Linked DNA regions of Homo sapiens: regions 1 and 3 are each linked to region 2. The links are contacts of gene promoters, found by promoter capture Hi-C in blood cells and fetal thymus (Javierre and others, 2016). All regions are on one chromosome and are shown on one strand. The core of a region is centred on a gene start or on the middle of the fragment in contact, and the rest is flanking DNA. Distances in the headings are between cores, read along the strand shown. Region 1 overlaps DENND1B (DENN domain containing 1B). Region 2 holds the start of C1orf53 (chromosome 1 open reading frame 53). Region 3 overlaps DENND1B (DENN domain containing 1B).

What was found. The method cuts DNA at HindIII sites, captures the fragments that hold promoters and counts their contacts. A CHiCAGO score of 5 or more calls a contact.
Region 1: a fragment that was not itself captured here is called in contact with the fragment with the promoter of C1orf53 in region 2 in 2 of 17 cell types (M1 macrophages and M0 macrophages); the score reaches 6.5 in M1 macrophages.
Region 3: a contact is called between a fragment that was not itself captured here and the fragment with the promoter of C1orf53 in region 2, in 1 of 17 cell types (M1 macrophages). The highest score is 6.0, in M1 macrophages.

Annotation. Positions count from the first base shown.
Region 1 is chr1:197,689,589-197,692,859 of GRCh38, reverse strand. The region is part of intron 3 of DENND1B (DENN domain containing 1B); the gene reads left to right. It also overlaps the pseudogene EEF1A1P32. Among named protein-coding and RNA genes, the nearest start is that of DENND1B, 84 kb to the left of the region's middle. The HindIII fragment of the contact is 2,029 bases long and covers 683-2,711 here.
Region 2 is chr1:197,901,117-197,904,152 of GRCh38, reverse strand. C1orf53 (chromosome 1 open reading frame 53) reads right to left here and starts at 1,523. Exons shown (of 3, transcript NM_001024594.3): 1 at 1,240-1,523. The coding sequence starts at 1,503. RefSeq lists silencers at 1,069-1,318, 1,489-1,638. The HindIII fragment of the contact is 7,446 bases long and covers 1-3,036 here.
Region 3 is chr1:197,661,328-197,664,389 of GRCh38, reverse strand. The region is part of intron 5 of DENND1B (DENN domain containing 1B); the gene reads left to right. Among named protein-coding and RNA genes, the nearest start is that of DENND1B, 110 kb to the left of the region's middle. The HindIII fragment of the contact is 1,919 bases long and covers 328-2,246 here.

The sequences.
Region 1 (3,271 bases), core at 448-2,947, 210 kb after region 2:
CCAGGCAAAGTTTAGGGAAAGAAAAGAATCTCCAAGAACAACTGCTTTTATAGGCCCCAACCTATGTCTTTAAATCCATACTGAAAAATATAATTTGATAATCATACCCTATGACCCTTGTAAATATTTTGGTTTTTAAGAGGTAAACAATATATTTCACTTCCTCCTTTTGATATAACCAGCTAGGATTATTTAATATGTTTTGCATTGCAAATTGTAATAGTCTGAAGTTTTACATGATTGTCTGTGGAGTTATTATTTATAGGATATGGGGCATTAAGGAGGAAGATTAACATCAGATAACTCCAATTTGAGCCATAGGGAATGGAAGAAGTAACAAAATATTAAATTAAGCACAAGAACTTGTTCAAATAACTGCTAATTTCATGTGGTTGGAGTGTGGGATTTATGGAACTTGATACTGAGGCTACAAAGGTAGTTTGGTCAGATTATGAAGAACTTTGTATACTATGCTAACTGCTTTGGCATTGACTAATAGGAAATAACCATAAAATGGTATATATTTAGGAGGCTTCCACATCACATCTATATTTTAAAGAGGTAACTTTAGATTTAGGTGCTTTGAATTGGATAAAAGGAGCCTGTTGGAGACATAGAGACTAGTTAGAAGGCTACGGTAATTGTTTAGTAGAACTGTTGAGAACCTCAACTAGAGAAAGCTTAAAGAGAAAGTGGGAAAGGGAATGGATTTGAGATTTTTTTTTTTTTATTGTGGAGGCACAGATACATGAGATCTACTCTATAAACAAATTGTTAAGTTTATGGTACAGTATTGTTAACTATAAGCACAGTGTTGTATATCAGACCTCTAGAACTTATTCATGTTATATAACTGAACTTTGTACCTGTTGAACAGCAACTTGCCATTTCTCTCTACTCACGGACCCTGGCTGGCAACCAGCATTCTACTTTCTGCTTCTGTGAGTTTGACTATTTTTGATGTCTCATTTAAGTGGAATCATGCAGTATTTGTCTTTTTGAGACTGGCTTATTTCACTTAGTGTAATGTTCTCCAGATTCATTCATGTTGTGGCAAATGACAGGATTTTCTTTCTTTTTTTAAGGCTGAGTAATTTTCCATTGTATGTATATAACACATTTTCACTATCCATTCATCTGTTGATGGACATGTAGGATGTTTCCACATCTTTGCTATTCTGAGTAATGCTACAGAGAACATGGAAGAGCAAATATCCCTTTATGATCCTGATTTCAGTTATTTTGGATAAATACCCAGGAGTGGGAATGCTGGATCATGTGGTAGTTCTATTTTTAATTTTTTGGGAAACTGTTTTCCATAGCTGCTGTAGCATTTGATATTCCCACCAACAGTATACAAGGGTGCCAATTTTCTACACTCTCTCCAACACTTATCTTTGTTTGTTTGTTTATTTGGTTGTTGATAATGGGCATTCTCACAGGTGTGAAATGATATCCAACTGTGATTTGCATTTCCTTCATAATTAGTGATGTTGAGCATGTTTTCATATAACTCTTAGCCATTCGTATGACTTCTTTGGAGAAATGTCTGTTTAAGTCCTTTGATCAATTTTTGATCAGGTCTTTTTTTTTTTTTTTGCTGTTAAGTTATAGGAGTTCCTTATATGCTTTGGATAGTAACCCTTTATCATATGTATGGTTTGCAAATATTTTCTTAGATGTTATAGGTTGCCTTTCACTCTTCAGGATGTTTTCTTTGAGGTGCAGAAGATTTTTAGTTTGATGTAATTCCACTTGTCTATTTTTGCCTTAGTTGCCTGTGCATATGTTTATAAACATCCGTATCATATATCCATGATTGGTGTTGTAGCCAAGAAATTATTGCGAAGACCAATGTCATGAAAGTTTTTCCATGTTTTCTTCTAAGAGCTTTACACTTTTCACGTCTTATGTTTAAGTCTATTTTTTTCATTAAAATATATTTTAATGGGTTTCAAAGTTCTATGACAGATTTTTTTTTGGTCAGGTTATTTCCATTAAGAAGTAATTATTTTAAAGACTAACAACTTAAGAACTCTCACACAAAAAAAACCCAAAAATGTTCCATAAAATGTTCTCCTTTCCTTCGGAAGGTTTTATAATGCATTGCTATCATTAATCAGTTTTTTACTATTAAACTTAAAATGGCCTATTCAGGCAAATACTTCTGGGACTGTTCTTCAACCACTGAATAAAACTAGGGTGCAGGTATTAGGGATAATATTCATTTAGCCTCCTGAACTTTCCAGGCAGACTTGCTGACCTTCCCAACTCTAGCAGCCCTCTTGTCCACTGCTTTGAAGACACCCACAGCAACTGTCTGTCTCATATTATGAACAGTAAAATGACCAAGAGGGAGATGGTCAGAGAAGCTCTCAACACTCCAGCAACCATCTGAACGATGGCAGCATCACTAGATTTCAAGAATTTAGGGTCACCTTCCAGCTTCTTACCAGAGTGGCAATCAATCTTGCTTCAATCAAGCAAACTTGCAAGCAACATAAGCTGTGTGACAGTCAAGTATAGGAGGATAACCAGAACCTATTTGGCCTGGTTGGCTCAAGATAATCATGTGAGCAGTGCAGTCAGCTGCTTCCATTGGTGAGTCATTTTTGCTGTCACCAGCAACATTGCCATGACGAGTATCTTTGACAGACACATTCTTGACATCGAAGCCCACATTATCCTTAGGAAGAGCTTCACTCAAAGCTTTTTGGTGCATTTCAACAGACTCTACTTCAGTTGTAGTGTTAACTGGTGCAAAAGTAGACCACATGCTGGGTTTGAGAATAGCAGTCTCCACTAGCCCCAAAGGGACAATGCCAATATCACCAATTTGTAGACATCAGGTAGGGGCAGACACAAGAGCTTGTCAACTGAATGAATTGATGGTAGGATGCAATTCAGAGCTTTAAGCAGCATGGTTTCACTGGTATCGCCATCTTTACAGGTGTCTTTCCATCTCTTGAGCCAAGGTATGTTAGCACTTGACTCCAGCATATTGTCACCATTCTAACATTGATGGCAGGGACTGTTTCTTGTTCACTGCTGCACCTCAGTGCCAAGCATAGTGCCTGGTAGGTAATAGACTCCTTAAGTTTTGTTGAATTAATAAAGGATGGATTAAAATAAAAAAGAAATTGGCACAAATGCTACTGTAGCAGGTCCGTAGCCAGTTTTCTTAATATGGGTGCTGATTTCCTTAATGATTTTCTCATATCTCTTCTGGCTGTAGGGTGACTCGGTGGAATCTGTTTTGTTAACATGAACA
Region 2 (3,036 bases), core at 274-2,773:
GATTTGTCGAAAAAGAAAAACAAGCAGCTTGTTATTTACTGGGCTTACTTATGGTCACCTGGATAGTCATTTAACCTGTGATACTGACACTGATGAAACAAATGTGAATTTCCCGAGTGAGAAAAAGTTCCTTTCCTTCCCTAGACTGATTGAAAATTTCTTCACATGATACTGGTGTTTGCTCTAAGGAGAATGACACTTTTCTTTAATATCCACCATATCTATATTGCGAAGTATGAGAACAAATTATATACATTATTTTTAAAAGGAGAGCATAAACAAGAACAATCAAAAGCTGCCAGTCACTTCCTAATGAGTCTTTATTCAGTTTCAGCACTTGAATGGGTCAGACCGACAGTGGATTCTCAGGGCCTACTAACTGTCATTATTTAAATAAGTCAATTTTAGGCAACCTCCGGGATTTTCTTCTCTACCCCTTTGGCTCAAGTCATACCATATAATATTAGTCCCATCAAGTACTGGAGGCACACACACATAGCTTATTAAATGGGTTCATTTCATACTGCTTTTCTATCTTTATTATAGTCAGTTTCTCTTTTTTTCTCACTGTTTCTTTTGTAAAGGTAACCATGCTGCCTTTAAACTCACGCAGACTGTGTTAGAAGGCGTAAAGGGAGAGAAGTTTAGATACTGGTACTAACAGACAATTGTCAAATCCGCAAAACAGGAGAAAACAGCTGAGTGTCTACAAATGCCAGATTGTAGTTCCCTCTGCTCCGTTAAGAGTTAAGAGAAAGGACAAGAAGGCAATGGAAAAATTAAAATAAATGTGTCAATGTCTTTTTTTCTCACTCTAAGAATCACTGGATTGCTAAGTGTTCAACTGACAATGCAGAAAAACACACAACACATTTTTGTTGTGACTTCTCAGTCCCTCCACCTTCTCCATCAATTCCTTAACACCCCCTTCCGCAACACACACACACATACACCACAAAAGAGTGGTAGTGGGTCCCACACTGCGACCGGAGTTTAGCTCGGACGCTGATCGGAAAACAAATCACACTCATACTCAAGACAGACACAGGTTTCCCGCGAAAATGTCGGGGCTGGAAGTTCGTGTGCGTGCGCGAATGTCGCCCGAGGCAGGACCGCACCGGTATCCAGCAACCTTTGCCTCTGCCGGGCGGCCTCCGGGTCCGGAGAGGCCCGGGATGCGCAGGCGCGCCGAGCCCGGGGCGGCCGCGGCGGGGCGGGGCGGGCAGGAGGGAGTCTCACCGCGCAGGCGGCAGCGTGCAGCTCCGCGATCTGTCGCTCCGCCGCGGTTAACTCTTCGCTCACCGAAGGCCTCGCCGCTCTCTCCGGCCTACCGGGCGTGCTGGGCGCGGAGCCGCCGCAGTTTCCCTCGTTAGCAGGGCAGAGGGTTAAGCTGAGCTGCTGTCGGAACCCAGCTCTTACCCAGAGAGGTGCTGGCGGCGGGGCGGCGGAAGGTTGCCTGCAGAGCGCGGCACCCGTCCGTGCCCAGATCTGCCTGGCCGCCATGCCGCCGCCGGCCTTGGGAGGCGGAGCACCCGGCGCTGGGGCCCGGAGGGGCGACCAACGCGGGCCTGGGCGCGGCGAGCCGGTCTTGGGCAGCTCGTGGCCATCGCTGCGTGGGGTCGGTTCGCGCTGCCGTGGCAGCAGGTGGAGGCGGACGGACTGAGCCTTCTGCCTTCACCAGCGGGCCCGCTGCGGAAATAAAATGGGCTTTTAAGGCAGCTAACGAGGCTCTGATGAGCTGCCTGGACGGGGAAGAGCCTGGTGTTTCCACATCTTTGGACTTAAATTCTAAGCTCTTCCTTCTTCCCCCGCGCCCACCCAGCTGAAAGGTGGACATTTTTTGTTATGTCAGACTGGACTTGGGATCATTCAGTATAATCTCCACAACTGTTAAGATCCCAGAAAGTGATCAAAAGACCCGAGGTTTGTGAATAACCACCTTGGGCCTATCCAGAAAAGGCTGAGTGTTTCCAGGTAGTATGTGATAGGAATAAAGGTGGAAGCGGAGCCTTCTTTGCTTGGTTCTTTGGCCCACCCTAGAATAAGGGCCAAAAGTAAAATCGCACACTGAATAAGAAAAGGTGTTGTGTTCATGTTGCTGAATATTTACAAAATCCAACCTAAAACTATTATCTCCTTTCTGATGGATGAAAGTGATCTTGATACCGTCACATAATTGTATTTGAGAAAATTACGGCAAGCCCGGGAAGTAATTTCAGGTGTTAGGATTAAATTAACACCACCCCATCTTCCTACCCCCCGTCTGGGTTTCAAGAAAAGGAGGGCTGAAGAGTACCAATTTTGTTAGTGCTCTTCAATACTGGGAGGGCAGGAATTGATCTTTGAGGACAAAAGTAGATTATTCAGTTGTACAGGAGAAAGGCGACTAAGCCACTATAGACCATCACTACGTGTTTTTTGGTTTCTGTGTTTACCATGCAACCCTGTAGTCATATTTTCATTTTCTTAAATCTTAGTAGGAGGTGATTGAAACAACCCTATTGGTTCATTAAAAATCTCAGTGAATTAATAAATTGGTATTATATTTTGCAAATTGATTTTCTTTTTGTTGGAATAAAAAATTAGGATCTGGAGACTGTTAAGTAATCTGAGGAGAGTTTAAAATCTGGAAAGCGAAGGAGGGACCCTAGAGAAAGCTGTGGAAGAGTGGGACCAAACATGAGATCACCAAAAATGAACAACTGTGATGTTATTCACATTCACCATAAGTCAGGTCCCCGCACCAACAAAAACCTGAGATTGATTTACTGCATTGTCTTTAAAATTAAGGATCAGGATCCACTAATAGGCCATGACATCGATTCAAAGGGTAGAGACAGCATTTTACAGGAATGAAATAGACTAGACCAGATTTAAATAGAAAATAAATGGAACTATCTTATATAGATACATATCTTATATAGATACATATGTACAAGAGTACATATTGTTACATGAAACTTCTTTTGGTGAAGATGAGAGGGTGGAAGTGGACTGTACAGGGCTTGAACAACAGAGATCTTGTAGGTAACAGAA
Region 3 (3,062 bases), core at 38-2,537, 240 kb after region 2:
TTTTACATTTATATATGTTGGCAAGAGTGCGAGAGTCACAGTTATTCTTTGTTCAATTTTAAAAATTCAAGTGAAGTGTCTTATTCACTTGTTACAATATGTCGAGTAATTTTTTTTAACTTCCTAGGATTTTTGTGGTCTGTTGTAAGAATACAGACTTTGACTGTCTTTGGGACTGTAAAATTTAGTGAAAAACATTTTAACATTTTACCTTATTGATAATCAGTTTAAAATTAGTTGCTTTGAGCATGTATCGTTTGAAAATTCCCTAAGAAACCACAAAATAAAGACTTGAAAATAACATTTCTTACTCTAGCAACATAAGCTTATATAATTTACAGTATTTTTTATCTCTCTCTCTGTGTGTGTGTGTGTGTGTATGTGTGTGTTTCAAAAGTTTTCTTTTTAAAAATGATGTTGTTTTTGCCATATATTTAGACTTAAAGTGTACTTAGAGTATAGTTAAAATTGGAATTACTGGACTACTTTGTATACCCTGGATCATTTTCTTGTCAGATAAGAAAGTGAGTAGTCGGTAGGATTTCCTGTTGAGCAGTTGCTTCTTATCAGGAGTTGTGAATTCAATTACCTATGTAGACCAGGTAAGGGGCTCAAATGAGAGAAACCTGTTAGGTGCCTAACAATAGGAAGTTGGGGTAAGTACGGTGATCTGAATAGTACATGCCACACTCAAAGACAGAAGCCACAACTCAGCCCTAGGAATTTGTTGCACAGTGAAAAATGTGTGGCCAGTATTACCAGTTCTTTTGACTTTTAAGAGAAACAAGAAGTCTGGATTTTTACAGTGAATTATATCAGATTTGGAAGTTGGCAACTTATTTAATTAAACAACAGTACAGTGTTGACCAAACAAAATATGCCCTTAGGATAGAAGCAGCCTGCAAATAGCCAGTTAGCACTGTTTGCTGTAGATGCTTGTTTATTTACAACAGAAAATGTCCTTGCTTTCTTGACGTTTCTAGGAGCAATGGCTACGTTATAGAGTAGTTCCACTTTTATATGTGATGTTTTTATTTAAAAAATGAATGATATGTACTCTTTAAAAGGAGAAAGTTATCACTGAGAGCCAGTACATGTTTACAAAGAGAGCATTGTTTATAACTAGGCTTGGTTTATTATGGTGATAGTACATACTGATGTAACAGGGAGTGCTGTAGTTGAAATTTGAGTCTGTTCTAATATTTCACAAACAAATTATGTGCAGAGAAAAGTGTTGGTTAGATGATACAATTATGAGTCTTTTGATTAGGTTAAAATTTCATACTTAGAATGTTGATAAATAATTGGTGTTATTTTGGGAGGCATCTTGAAGACTTTTGCAGGCCATATCCTTTTCAAAATTTTTATCCACAGTGATGAACACAGAAGCAATACCAAACTTAAAATTGGAAGGGTTTACCAAAATGTTACTTTAAAGAATCACATTGAATAGACCTTTATTTGTTGGGAAATTTGCCCCTATGAACAAACTATAATTTAAAAGTCATAAAGGTAATGCTCTGAATGTTAAATAAACAAATGAATTTTAGAAGATAGAATTTGCTTCAGTGGATAGGACATATAGGCAGGCTGTTTTAAGATTACAACAGAATGATTTTTGTCTCAGTTCATTTAGCTGCCTGAAATGCCTGGTCATTGAACATGTTTATTAAAAGGCTCACTGTACATTAGCAGATATACTTAAAGTAAATGACAAGTTAATGGGTGCAGCACACCAACATGGCACATGTATACACACACATGTAACAAACCTGCACATTGTGCACGTGTACCCTAGAACTTAAAGTATATATTTTTTAAAAAAGGCTCGCTATATAGAAATACACGCCAAGATAGGGTGATAGACTGTCTGTGGTAGACCCCTGAGCATATATTACTCAGGTTGATTAGGGTTCTAATCCCAAGATTGCCATTCCATAGCTTTGTGACCCTAGATAAGTTGCTTTATCTTAGTCAAGTATGTATCAAAGCATTAGTGTAAGAATTAAATGAGATAATACATATAAGTATCCAATGTACTGTCATTCATATAGTTACTCCTTAAGTAATTTTACTTCCTGCACTTCCAATTGTTTTAACACATAAATTCTATGATTCTTAGATTCTGCTCTCAACCCCTAGATGGACGTATAACTAACTAGTGAGTTATACTCCCCAAATAGAAATAATAAAGTATTTTGGGGCCTTAGAGATGACTATGAGAAATATCCCATAAGGGTAAAGCTTATTTCTAAACAGTGTTAGTTTAATTTATAGATGAAGTCATAGTTTGATTTATAGATGAAGTCATAGCCTGGTACCAGGATGAAATTCAATAAAGCTTATTATCTTGGACATGTAAAAAACAGTAATAATTACGTAGATACCAAAATGCCTAGCACAAATAAAAACTGTTTAAATTTTTAAAAGTAACTTAAATATGGATATATTAATTATTTATTCAAAGACAAGGATATAGTCTTACAGATAAATTATATTTATCTGTATAAATTAGCTTCTTAATGAAAAATCTGATTCTGATGTGCCTTTGCAATTTGAAAGGAAATTAAAAGGGGAAGATAACCAGTGAAAAACAATAATATAAAGTTCAGAAAACCAGAACATTGAAAGAAATGTTAAGGGTTTTTGGTCTAGAATGAAAAACATTATCTCACTTTCTAATAACATAATTATTGTTATGTATATAGTTTTTATAGTAGACCATGAAAGAAAAATTAAGGTTACCAAAGGCCTCACTTTATTTAAATAAGGTGAAAATGACAATGTAAGCATTAACAGGTAGACATGCAGCCACCTACAATCAATACATTTTGCTTTATCTAAAGCTCCTTGAGAGTTGGATAGAAACAGACCAGCATGTTCTTTGAATAGATTAGGTCTCATCTGAATTTTTAGGTCTGAACTACATGACACATTGAAATTGTCTGGAAATAGCAATTTCTTCAGGCTATTAAAAGTTGAAATGTGAGTTTGAAATGACTACAAATGAAAGCAATTAGGCTCTAACTAAGGATTATGTGTCTTGGTGGAAGGAAATTTGC